2 separate regions of the Homo sapiens genome follow, and region 1 is linked to region 2. The links are contacts of gene promoters, found by promoter capture Hi-C in blood cells and fetal thymus (Javierre and others, 2016). All regions are on one chromosome and are shown on one strand. The core of a region is centred on a gene start or on the middle of the fragment in contact, and the rest is flanking DNA. Distances in the headings are between cores, read along the strand shown. Region 1 holds the start of BET1 (Bet1 golgi vesicular membrane trafficking protein). Region 2 holds the start of SAMD9 (sterile alpha motif domain containing 9).

Evidence for each region. The method cuts DNA at HindIII sites, captures the fragments that hold promoters and counts their contacts. A CHiCAGO score of 5 or more calls a contact.
Region 1: a contact is called between the fragment with the promoter of BET1 here and the fragment with the promoter of SAMD9 in region 2, in 5 of 17 cell types (non-activated CD4 T cells, total CD8 T cells, naive CD4 T cells and 2 more). The highest score is 10.4, in non-activated CD4 T cells.

The regions. Positions count from the first base shown.
Region 1 is chr7:94,001,696-94,007,042 of GRCh38, forward strand. BET1 (Bet1 golgi vesicular membrane trafficking protein) reads right to left here and starts at 2,660. Exons shown (of 4, transcript NM_005868.6): 1 at 2,503-2,660. The coding sequence starts at 2,521. RefSeq lists enhancers at 1,870-2,476, 2,477-3,082, 2,537-2,586, 2,597-3,226. The HindIII fragment of the contact is 1,547 bases long and covers 1,791-3,337 here.
Region 2 is chr7:93,113,941-93,119,529 of GRCh38, forward strand. SAMD9 (sterile alpha motif domain containing 9) reads right to left here and starts at 4,039. Exons shown (of 3, transcript NM_017654.4): 1 at 3,923-4,039; 2 at 855-955. The HindIII fragment of the contact is 4,352 bases long and covers 3,833-5,589 here.

The sequences.
Region 1 (5,347 bases), core at 1,410-3,909, 890 kb after region 2:
GTGCAAACTGTAGTTTAATAAGGGCCAAGATACTTAAAGAAAGAATGTCTTCTTATTTTGTGTGGCTGAGGTTCTGAGTATATAACATTTACCCAATAAGTAATTACTGACTGGTTGAATTCAAACATTTGACAACTTCACCAAGGAATTCATTATAAATTAACTGCTATTTTTTCTTTCCTTTGTTTAGTTGCTTTTGCCTATCTTAATTTTAATTTTAGAGTTCTTCCATGCTGTTCCATTTATTCAAAGTGAAATTCTTGTTGTATTTATCGTCCAGAAATATATCAATGCACATTCCTATTAAAGAGTTGATCTTCCCTCAAACTATGACCCATCCCAAATACAATGACAAAAGTAAAAACCAAATAAAATGCTAGAATTGCTATTCCAAACAAAGCCACTTCTCTTCTGGTGGTGTACTGCTATGAAAAGTTGTAAAAAAGCTAGTGAGTACTGAAGATCATCCTCAGCCTTTGTTTATTTAGATAAACGCTACTTTTTTGGATAGGTTCTATCAGTAAGCTAACAAAACCATTTAGAGATTCATGTGAAGTGTGGCAGCTTCTGCCTATGGATATGTATCAGATTCACTATGATCCCAAATTTAAAATTTCAGGTCAATATGCATTCATACTTTAAAAAAAAAGAAAAGAAAAAATGTGTAACAAAAGCCTTTGTCACTTCACACCAATGTAAATTATAGCAATAGTAGTTACCTAGGTAATTACTTCTCCTCTCAATCACAGAAGAGCTTTTTTTTAAAAAAAAAAAAAAAAGAAAGAAAAAAAAAGGAAAAAAGGAGAAGGTAGTGGGCTCTAAATTGGAGAAATTCTAATTTTACTGGCTGAGCTGAGGTCCAGGTAACAATACTTTAAAAACTTCCCAAGGGATTCTAATGTACAGTCAGGGCTGAGAACCATTACTCAAGTCACTTTCCTGCAATTTAACATGGCACACTGCAGCAGGAAAATACTCAAAAGGGCCTAGGGGCCTACTGATGAAATCCAAACTCTTTGGCCTCGCATGCAAAGATCTCCACAGTGTGATCCCGAATCCCCTACTTCACCCAAACTGGCTTAATCATAATCCCTTACTTCTTTTGAGTTCCTCCTATCTGGAACTCACTTCCCCCACTCTCCATTATTCAAGGTCTACTTCAAATTCCTATGTCTCCACCAAATACACAAAGATCTTCCCCACAAAGTACACAGTGATCTATCTCTGAAATCTCTGAGACCATCCCTTATATGTAGAACTTATCTGGTATTTGGATGTATAGCGACACTTTGTACTACAATTTATCTTTGCACATATTCCTACTCCCCACCTAGACTGGAAGCTTTGGGGATCACAAACAGGGCAACAAACAACTGTATACCTAGAGCTTACTCAAGCACACAATAAATCTTTTTTGGTATTAAGGATGATGAACAAGAAAAACATTTAGACATATAAAGCTAAACTTGCTCAAAATTATTTCTTTTTTTTTTCTCTTCAATTTACCTGGCCCCATTTTCTATGATCTAAGTATTCATAAAAACTTCATTAAAAAAACAAAAAACTTTCTCATACTACAATTTATTGATCAATAAACAAGTCTACGGTTATTGGCAACTTTCACTGACTTTAAATATCTGACACTTTGGGGATTTTTTTTTTCTTTTTTCAATCTTATAATGACTGAGAAAGGTAATATCTTTTTTCAAATGTTTCATTTATTTTCTGAAGTATACTGCACTCTAATTTAGCGGGGTCTTCTTTAAAAAAAAAATCGTGTCCTAAGAGAAAGCTTCAGAACCAGAAAATGCCGTTCTAGTAGCTGTGCGTTACTATAAGGGTCCATTAAAATTCCTTGTGTCTAACTTATTCTTGCTGATGAGCCAGTTTCCTAACCCCAAAGGTAAAGATCAAATGTTAAGTCGCCAAACCTTAACCACGTTCTACTGCCTTAACCGTGGCACAAGGTTCAGATTAAGAAATCGCCTTTGACCCAGAAGTTCCAGTTCCAGGACCTTTAACAATAATGACACATACATTTACCTTTGTAACTCACTGTTACCAGATTAACGACCATTACTAGCGTGCTTTGGGTGCAACCACCCACTCTTCAAATTCCGCTTCTGAAGAAACTAAGATCCAGGGCCAGTAGGGAAACAGAAACCGGAGTCGGGCTTTGGAAAACATAGCAGCGTCCATAACCACGCTCAGTCAATAACACTAAAACACTCGACCACTGAGATGCCACCTGTACACACCCACCCCTAGTCCACTACTTTCTCTAGCCTACCATCCAAACTTGAATCTGACTCAAACTTAAGGAAATTCCAAAGATCTGGGACAAATGGTGTGTTTCCACTCGACATGGACCCCAAAGATCCCCTCTAGACATCCTGTTTTTTGGACCAAATGCCAGGAACATAAGACAGGTTCGATTTCCTCCCGCGCCCCAGCGCTCCCGGTTCTAGGGCCCCGAACTTCGAACCTCAGCCCTCTTCTTACCCAGGCCTGCACGCCTCATCCTGCCAGAGGAGAGAGAGAAAAGGCGGGTGCGGGGCTTTGGGTGAGTAGGAAACAGCTAGGGGCGACCCGGACCGCGTCTTCAGTACCAGGGCCCAGCGAAACACCAACTTCTTCCCCTAAAGCGCCACGACATCAGTGGAGTCTAAACACCGCGCCGGATGATGGCGTCACCACGGCGCTCATTGGAGCCCTGGGAAGAAGGTTGAAAGGCATTCTGGGAAATGTAGTTCACCAACGCATAACGTGTTGCTGAGGGCGTGATGTGAACCCGGTTCCAGGAGCGGACGGGGCGTCCGGAAAAGGGGGCGGCTTCGACTGCGGCTCTGATTCTGGGTCTCTGATCCAACGTTCCCGCTGTTCCGCTCGCAGCCCGCGGGTCGCTGCTTTCAGTTTGTTGACCACCAAGTTTAACCCAGCAGATCTGCTCCTCCCCACCCACAAGAGGATGGTTGGGGTATCTTTCCTGATTTAGCCTCGAACTCCCTCTCACCTCCAGAGACGATTCAGGGAAAGTTAGAGAAAACTTTGTCCAGGTTTCTCAGTTTACAAACAAGTAATCCGACACCCACAGAAGTAACCGATTTGTGCCTTGTAGTATCCAGTAAAGGAAAGAAAACCAGGTTCCTTTGAGTAGGACTCCTGCTCAGATGAGAGCAGACTAGGAAAGGCTGCGGGATCTGGTCAGAGGCACTGAATAGTTAGTTCCCTGTTACTGCATCTGTTGTACTTCTAGAAAGAACCAAGACTTTTAGTTGTTATGGGGACCAAAGGACCCCTAAACGCTCTCCCACTTTTTTTTTTTTAACTTACACAAAGCTTATTGAAATACTGCTTACACAAGGCAGTGTGCCAATTAGGGGTTTAAAACTTGTTGGCGAGTTGGAGGTGTTACTGGTATCGAGGTTAATCCTAGAATTTCATTTTATCTCAGAGGATTTATCGTGAGAATACGATGAAATCGTGGTTTTTGAAGGGAAAACAAAAAAACCTGATACACAGTAGGTGATCAAAATTCACTGGGTGTCTGCGGTTTTGTTGTTGCTGCTGTATATATGGCAGTGGAATCGTCTCCACACTAGAGATTTCCGAATATGTGATCTTTGATCATTTAGCGTTTCCTCATAGTTTCCCAGGACATTATTAACATTGACTATAATACTGGCATAAGTCTCTGCGTTAAGTTGCTTTTGTAAAAAACACATGAAAACAATTTTTAATAAGAGTTATTAACCTGGGAAGGAGGCTTTATCCAATAGTGTTTTGATAGAAAAAAATCATTAAAATAAAACCGCCATTTTCTAAAAGCAATGAAATTAAATAAGCATAATATCAGGGACAATTATTACAAATAAAAGATGGAGATTCAATAAAAGAAATGATAGCTAGGTATCCCTTTATAACTTAAAATCTGTGACAGTCCTTTGGTTAAAAAAATGCATGTTCTATAATTAAAACGTTTAAAAATTGCCTTACAGAAGGCTTGCTGATGGAAATGTAGAAATCGTTATTTTTGAAAATATGGTAATATTTACTAGAACTAATCATTTAGATTACATAAAATATACTGCTTCCTTTACATGGTAGGAAGACATAAGAATGAAATGTAGTTAAAAGGAAAACATATATAATGTACTAAGAATATAACTGAAGTAAGGCAAAGCTAGTTCATATTGAAGTTGTTACCTAAAAAATCCAATTATTGTTTTTAGCTAACGTTGCTAGTATCAAATTAGGATAATGTCATCTGAAAAAAATTTGCACTCAAAGGAAGAGGCAGGAAAAATGAACTCAATGTGCAGAAAAAGAATTATTAAATGTGACCATAGTTGACATTAGCGATCAGAGGGAATCATTTTCACTTTTCTCGTTGTGCTTTTTCCTTTTTAAATTAAAATCCTTAACTTTTCTTACTGATTGAAAGCAAATAAATTTCACAGAGATGAATAGCATTTAGAACCTCTTCTCTATTCTCACAGGATAGTCTCACAGAAAACATCTAATGTTTGTAGGTCTCTAGGAGATAAAGGACTAAAAATTACTTAAAATAATATTAAGTATTCCTTCTAGTAATTACAAAAGCAAGAATAAAAGCAGGAAATGTCTGAATCGAGGTGCAAAATTGGAACTTTTCTTTCTCCTATCTGTCTGCTTCCTGCCTGCCCATTTGTCCTACCTCTTCCTGACCAAATTTCAAGTCCAATCCAAGGGAAAAGAGCATACCAAGCTCTCAAAACTGGTTCAATAAACATTAACACATTTTTCAATCATGAAGCAAATTCAGTATCTCGGGTATCATATTTGAACTGTCACAAAATGTAAACTAGAAACAAAAAGCTCTTGATTTACAAACAAGCTATGGGACAAAGTTTGTTTCTAAGTTTGTTGTTTGGTATTTAAAGCACATTTTCCCTGAAGACTGAAATGATGGTCAGGTTCCCAACTCAGCCCAGAAAACACATGGCTGTTAGAGTTACTATGCTGGCCAATCAAAGTCTGTGTAACCCATAGGACAGCAGAAATACCGCGTATTTTCAAGACCAATAGAAGGAAAATAATGTTGTAATACTTGTGATAAAATAAAGCAAAGCCATTAAAGAAGAAATAGAGTGTTTAAAAATTATTTTGGTTATTCATGTTTGAGAAAGAATGAGTTTTACTTAAAAGTTTTAAGAATGCGAAGAATATTTTCAAGGAGTTTGCAAAAAGTCACCAATTTGATCTGTCTTTTCCATAATTTGGGAATATTACTAGCACTGATGGCAAGCTTTTCAGCCATAGTTTGTAAAAATTAGGCACACAATTCCAACCTTAAAGTCCTCAGCAG
Region 2 (5,589 bases), core at 2,789-5,288:
ATTACTGGGTATATACCCAAAGGATTATAAATCATGCTGCTATAAAGACACATGCACACGTATGTTTATTGCGGCACTATTCACAATAGCAAAGACTTGGAACCAACCCAAATGTCCATCATTGATAGACTGGATTAAGAAAATGTGGCACATATACACCATGGAATACTATGCAGCCTTAAAAAAGGATGAGTTCATGTCCTTTGTAGGGACATGGATGAAGCTGGAAACCATCATTCTGAGCAAAGTGTTGCCAAGGACAGAAAGTCAAACACCACATGTTCTCACTCACAGGTGGGAACTGAACAATGAGAACACTGGGACACAGGTTGGGGAACATCACACACTGGGGCCTGTTGTGGGGTGGGGGAGGGGGGAGGGATAGCATTAGGAGATATACCTAATGTAAATGACAAGTTAATGGGTGCAGCACACCAACATGGCACATGTATACATATGTAACAAAGCTGCACGTTGTGCACATGTACCCTAGAACTTAAAGTATAGTTTTTTAAAAAAGGAGGAATGACTGAAAATCATGAACCTAATGCCAGTTTAATAAATTGAAAGAAGAATAACAGAATAAAACTGAAATAAGAAGAATGAGAAAAATAAAGATAAGAGCAGGAATTTATAAAGTGGAAAACAAAATGACAAGAGAGACTCAGTGAAGTCCAAGAGCTGTTTAGATAAAAAGTAATAAAATTGACACATCCATGGAATGATTAACCAAAAAATAAAAAAGAAAGGTGGCACAAATAAGCAATATTAGAAACTTTAAAAATGAACCAACTTTAACTGAATAAATTGAAAACTGAGATTAATTGAGCAAATTCTTAAAAAATATAGCTTACCAAACTGACTCTAGAAGAAACCGAAGAAGTCTCACTTCCAGGGTGATGTAGGAGATCACAAAAGGCCACCTATTCACCCACTGCAACCATGAGATCAAAATCTGAAAAATTGCAAAACTCATATTTTTAAGTAATCACAAAGTCATCAATAGACCAGATGACAAGGACTGGATGAACTAAAATTCCAGAGAGGAAAGATCCCTGTCTATGTAAGCTTTGGGGGCATTTGTTGATTTGGGGTTGGGTTTAAGGATTAGACTTGGCCTACCGGGAGGAGGAAAACCAGTGGGGATTTTCATAGTCACAGGGGCGGGTCTAATGAAGTGCAATTAGAAGTGTTCCAAAATGTTTACCGTAATGGAAATGCAAAGTAAAATTACAACAAGATAATACTACATGCCTACCAGAATGGCTAAAATTAAAGACTGTTAATGCCAAATGTTGGTGATGATGTGGAGTCAGTGGAGCTCTCATATGCTGTCTGTGGGAATGTACATTGTTTTAGCCACTTCAAGAAACTATCAGTTTTTGTGAAGTTAAATATATACCTACTCTTTGGATCTGCAATTCTCATGAAAATTATTAAAGTACTGATACAGGCAACAACATGAATGAATATCACATCATACTGTGTGAAAGAAGCCAGTTACAACAGAAAACATATTGTAGAATTCTACTTATATAGTTTAAGAATAGGCAAAAGTAATCTGTCATAGAAGTCAGACTGATGTTGGGGGGTGGATATTTTCTGGGAAGGGGTGATGGAAATATTTTATATCTTGATATGGCTAGCGGTTGCACAGATAAGTACATATTAAAATTTCATAAAGGCTTACCCTTAAGTTTGTTCATTGTATACAAGTTATACTGTATTTAAAAAGCCAATAATGCCTCCAAAATACATTAGAAAATAAAACGGATGAATAAAATAAAAGAGATACTTGCATAAAAAAGATGATGGTGTGTTATGAATCAAGGATAATTGTGAATTCAATGGTATGTGAGGTCCTAAAGTTTTACTAGGTGTTTATTATTGCAGTCTCAGATTATGAACTTTTGACTTCTGCATCCCACTCAGTGTTGATTCAATACTGGTTTTAGAGTTGTCTAAAAACTGACTACACCCTCGTCTAGTAACCATTCTATCTGAGTCACTTTCTTGTATCCATTTACTGAGTCACGTCTACTCCACCCTATGAAAGTATGCTCACTTTTGTTGCACCCACACTATTTAACACATAAAGCAGGGGTCCCCGATTATTGTGCTGCTAGCGTGCGCTGGCTCCTGAGGCCTCATACCTATGGCTCTCATCCCCCATCTCGCCGCTTCCCACCAGTACCCTTTTCCTAGGGTCTCCCTGACTTCCTTCATCAACTTGGACCTTTCACAGTTTTACAGACACAGTCCTTAGTCTCTGGTGATATGTCATAAACTAGATTATGAGACTGGTGAATTAGATGGATTATTTGATTCATGCAAGAACTACATACCATTATATGTGAAAACGTAAAGTCAGGTTCTCATATAAGAGTGTGGGGGATGGAGAACTGGGCCTGAACATTTGGTTGGGAAAGTAAGCAAATAATAAAGAAGTGACTTTTGACTGTTTTCTCTACTAGAGACACTATGAATATTTCAAATGTCATTGAACAGGTTACACTTTCACACTTCTTCCCCTAAAGCTTTTGTCAGATTATTGATAGCTGTGCCTTTCAATACATTATTTTAAAAAAATTGTTGATGATGTCACTCTTGGAGAAAATATATGCCAGCATTCATAGGTATTTATGCCACTGTTCATAGATATTTTACATATTAATGATTTCTTTATACCCTCTCGTTCCAAAATGTTTTTTAGGTAATTTAGAAAGTAATATAGGATCACACATATATTAAAACCCTTAGGTAAAGAAATCATGGGGAAGGCTAAATAAGGGTAGGGGGAGAAAAGGTGAAATGAGGGAGTAAAATTAGTACCTAAAATTACTGGTTTTGATTCCGTATACTTTAAAAACTGACCTGAAAATTTGGTTCTGAGCATCTTAGTAGGAAACACTATTTGTTACTGATTGAACCCACATACATTTTTTAACTCTGGTTGGTGTTAAACTGTAGGGTTTGTTAACTTTTCTAGAAGGGAGTTGAAGGTCAGACCTTTATTCAGAAATGTGATCCTCCAACCGTCTTGCATTATCTTACTGTTTGCTTTGGGGAGAAATTAGACATAAACCTAGTATTTTTGCCAGGAACATAAAGCTGCCTTAATTCCAAAGACTTCCCATAGTAGTCTATCTGTCTGTCTGTCTTCCTATGTATGTCATCCGACAACAATATCTGAGAAGCTCTCAGAGAGTTTTGTTTTCTGGAAGCTACCTATTTCTTAGAGTAGATGGTGGAAGTTGTATTTGATTAAAGTAAAGTACTTTTAAGTTTTCATTGCCTGTTCTTTATCTATCTTTCCGTTTGTTGTTGTTGTTGTTGTTGTTGTTGTTGTTGTTTTTGAGACAGTGTCTCACTCTGTTGCCTATGCTGGAGTGCAGTGGTACAATTACAGCTCACTGTAACCTTAAATTCCTGGGCTCAAGCAATCCTTCTGCCTCAGCCTCCAAAGTAGCTAGACTGCAGCTGCGTGCCACCACATCCAGCTATTTTTTTTTTTGGTAGGAATCTTGCTAGGTAGGGTCTTGCTATGTTGCCCAAGCTAATTTTGAATTCCTGGCCTCAAACAATTCTCCTGTCCTTGCCTTCCAAAGTGCTCAAATTACAGGCTACCACACCTGGCCTGTTTGTTCTTTCTGAAGATGCTGTATGCCTTGGGAGAGTTCATCAATAAAAGTGTCTGTAGTTTTCAACTGCATCTTTAATGAAATGTTATGACTAATTTTTCAACTAATATAAAGCAGACTGCTGTCAGAGCAACAAATAGTCTAGAATTTCTAGGCTTAGAATACTATTTTTTGTTTTGAGGTATATTTGAAGCTTCTAATTGAAAAGTATATTTCTTTCTATTCAATAAAATGCTGCTATAGATAGTAAGAACAATATTAATAATAGATATTGTACTTACCCAGTAGTCTTGCAAATTTCTTTTACATATATGTGGGGAAAACCATCTCTTTTAGTGCTGAAAATATCTGATGTGTTTGTTTTCTTCCTCCTACGATGCTAGAGAAAAGTATTTTCCTCATTCTGGTTTTAACGGAAGTCTATGTATTCTCTGCTTCTGTCTCACAGCAAGCTCTAATTGGCTCAGAAACAGCAGGGCGTGTTTAACAACTGGGAGGTTGGGGAAGGAAGAATATAGGTTTGGTTTCAGTTTCATTTCTCAGATCTGAAATTACAGCACCGCCTTTTCTATCTGAAATGCTTTTTAATAAGCTATGGCTATATACCACCTTCTGGTCTGCTTGGTTAAAATCTGAAGGCTTAACAATTTTTCCTCACTTGAGAGTTTTGAGGGCTGCAGAAAGCCCCATTGTCTTGTTATAGACAAACTGTGGGATATTCTGGCTTAATTGATCCCTTGGGAATATGAGTTTACATTGCAGTCCCAGCCTTGTAGAGCACCAGGTTGGAGATACTCTAGGTCAATATTTCACTGGCCTTTAAGGGTGGAGTTACTGTCCATTCCTGTTTTCCTAAAGTGTAAAGAATGTCTTTCAGGGATAGGACTTCTTTGAGCACCCCAATAAGTGCTAAATTCATTTATTGCAGAGCAGACCAGGGCTGCAGCAGACCTGATGGTCACATTGTAGAGATTTATCTTTTCTAAGGTCAGTGTCAGGGCCAGAGAGAAAACTGCCTGAGTGAGAGCAACAAAAATAGCTGATATTTTAAAAACTAACAGCAAGTACTGATATTTATTGTGTGTGCTCAATTAGCTTTTGGTTTCCACATCCCACAACTGATTCACACTGGTTTTAGATGAAAACATTTAAAAACATTTATTTTAAAATATTTATTGGGCGCTTACCATGTACCAGGCATTGTTCTAAATGTTTCATATTAACTTAATTACTCTTCACAACAATCTCCTGAGGTAGAGATTATTTTTATCTCAATTTTAAAGGTGAAGAAACTGAGGCATAGAGATTAAATAATATGGCTAAAGTTTGCATAACTAATACATGGCAGAGATTCGAATCCAGGTTTCAGGCCAGTGCTCTTAAATCCTGAGGTTTAGGAAGAAAGAAAGTGGCTATGAAGGACAGCCTAGATATGACCATTACACTTATCACCCTCAGGAGCCCTCCTCGTAAGGGGACCCTGGGCCTGAACTCCAAAACCTGGGTTTCACTTTGCATGGGGACCAGTGTGATGGTTAATTTTATGGGTCAACTTGACCGGGCCACAGAGTGCCTAGATATTTGGTCAAACATTATTCTGGTGGTTCTGTGAGGGTGAGGAGGCAGGACTAGCTTGCAGCTCCTGCTGGGACAGACAGGACAGCATGTGGAGACTCACATCATGAACTTTTGCTTCAAGAATTACTGCAGCAACATACCAGGAAAGCCAAGAGAATTCACAGACCCTTTGAAGGAACTGTATCGCCACTGCAGTTTCTCTGAGATGCCAAAAAGAAAAGTCATGAGTCTGCTTGCTTTCTCAGCAGGGAGGCTGATAGCCAGGGGCAAGTTCTCAGCCCTGGTCACCGACTGCCTGGAAATAGATTCGATGTTGTTGGCAGGGGCACAGTGGGAGTGAGACTGGCCTTTAGGAGTGTGGGTTGTGTGG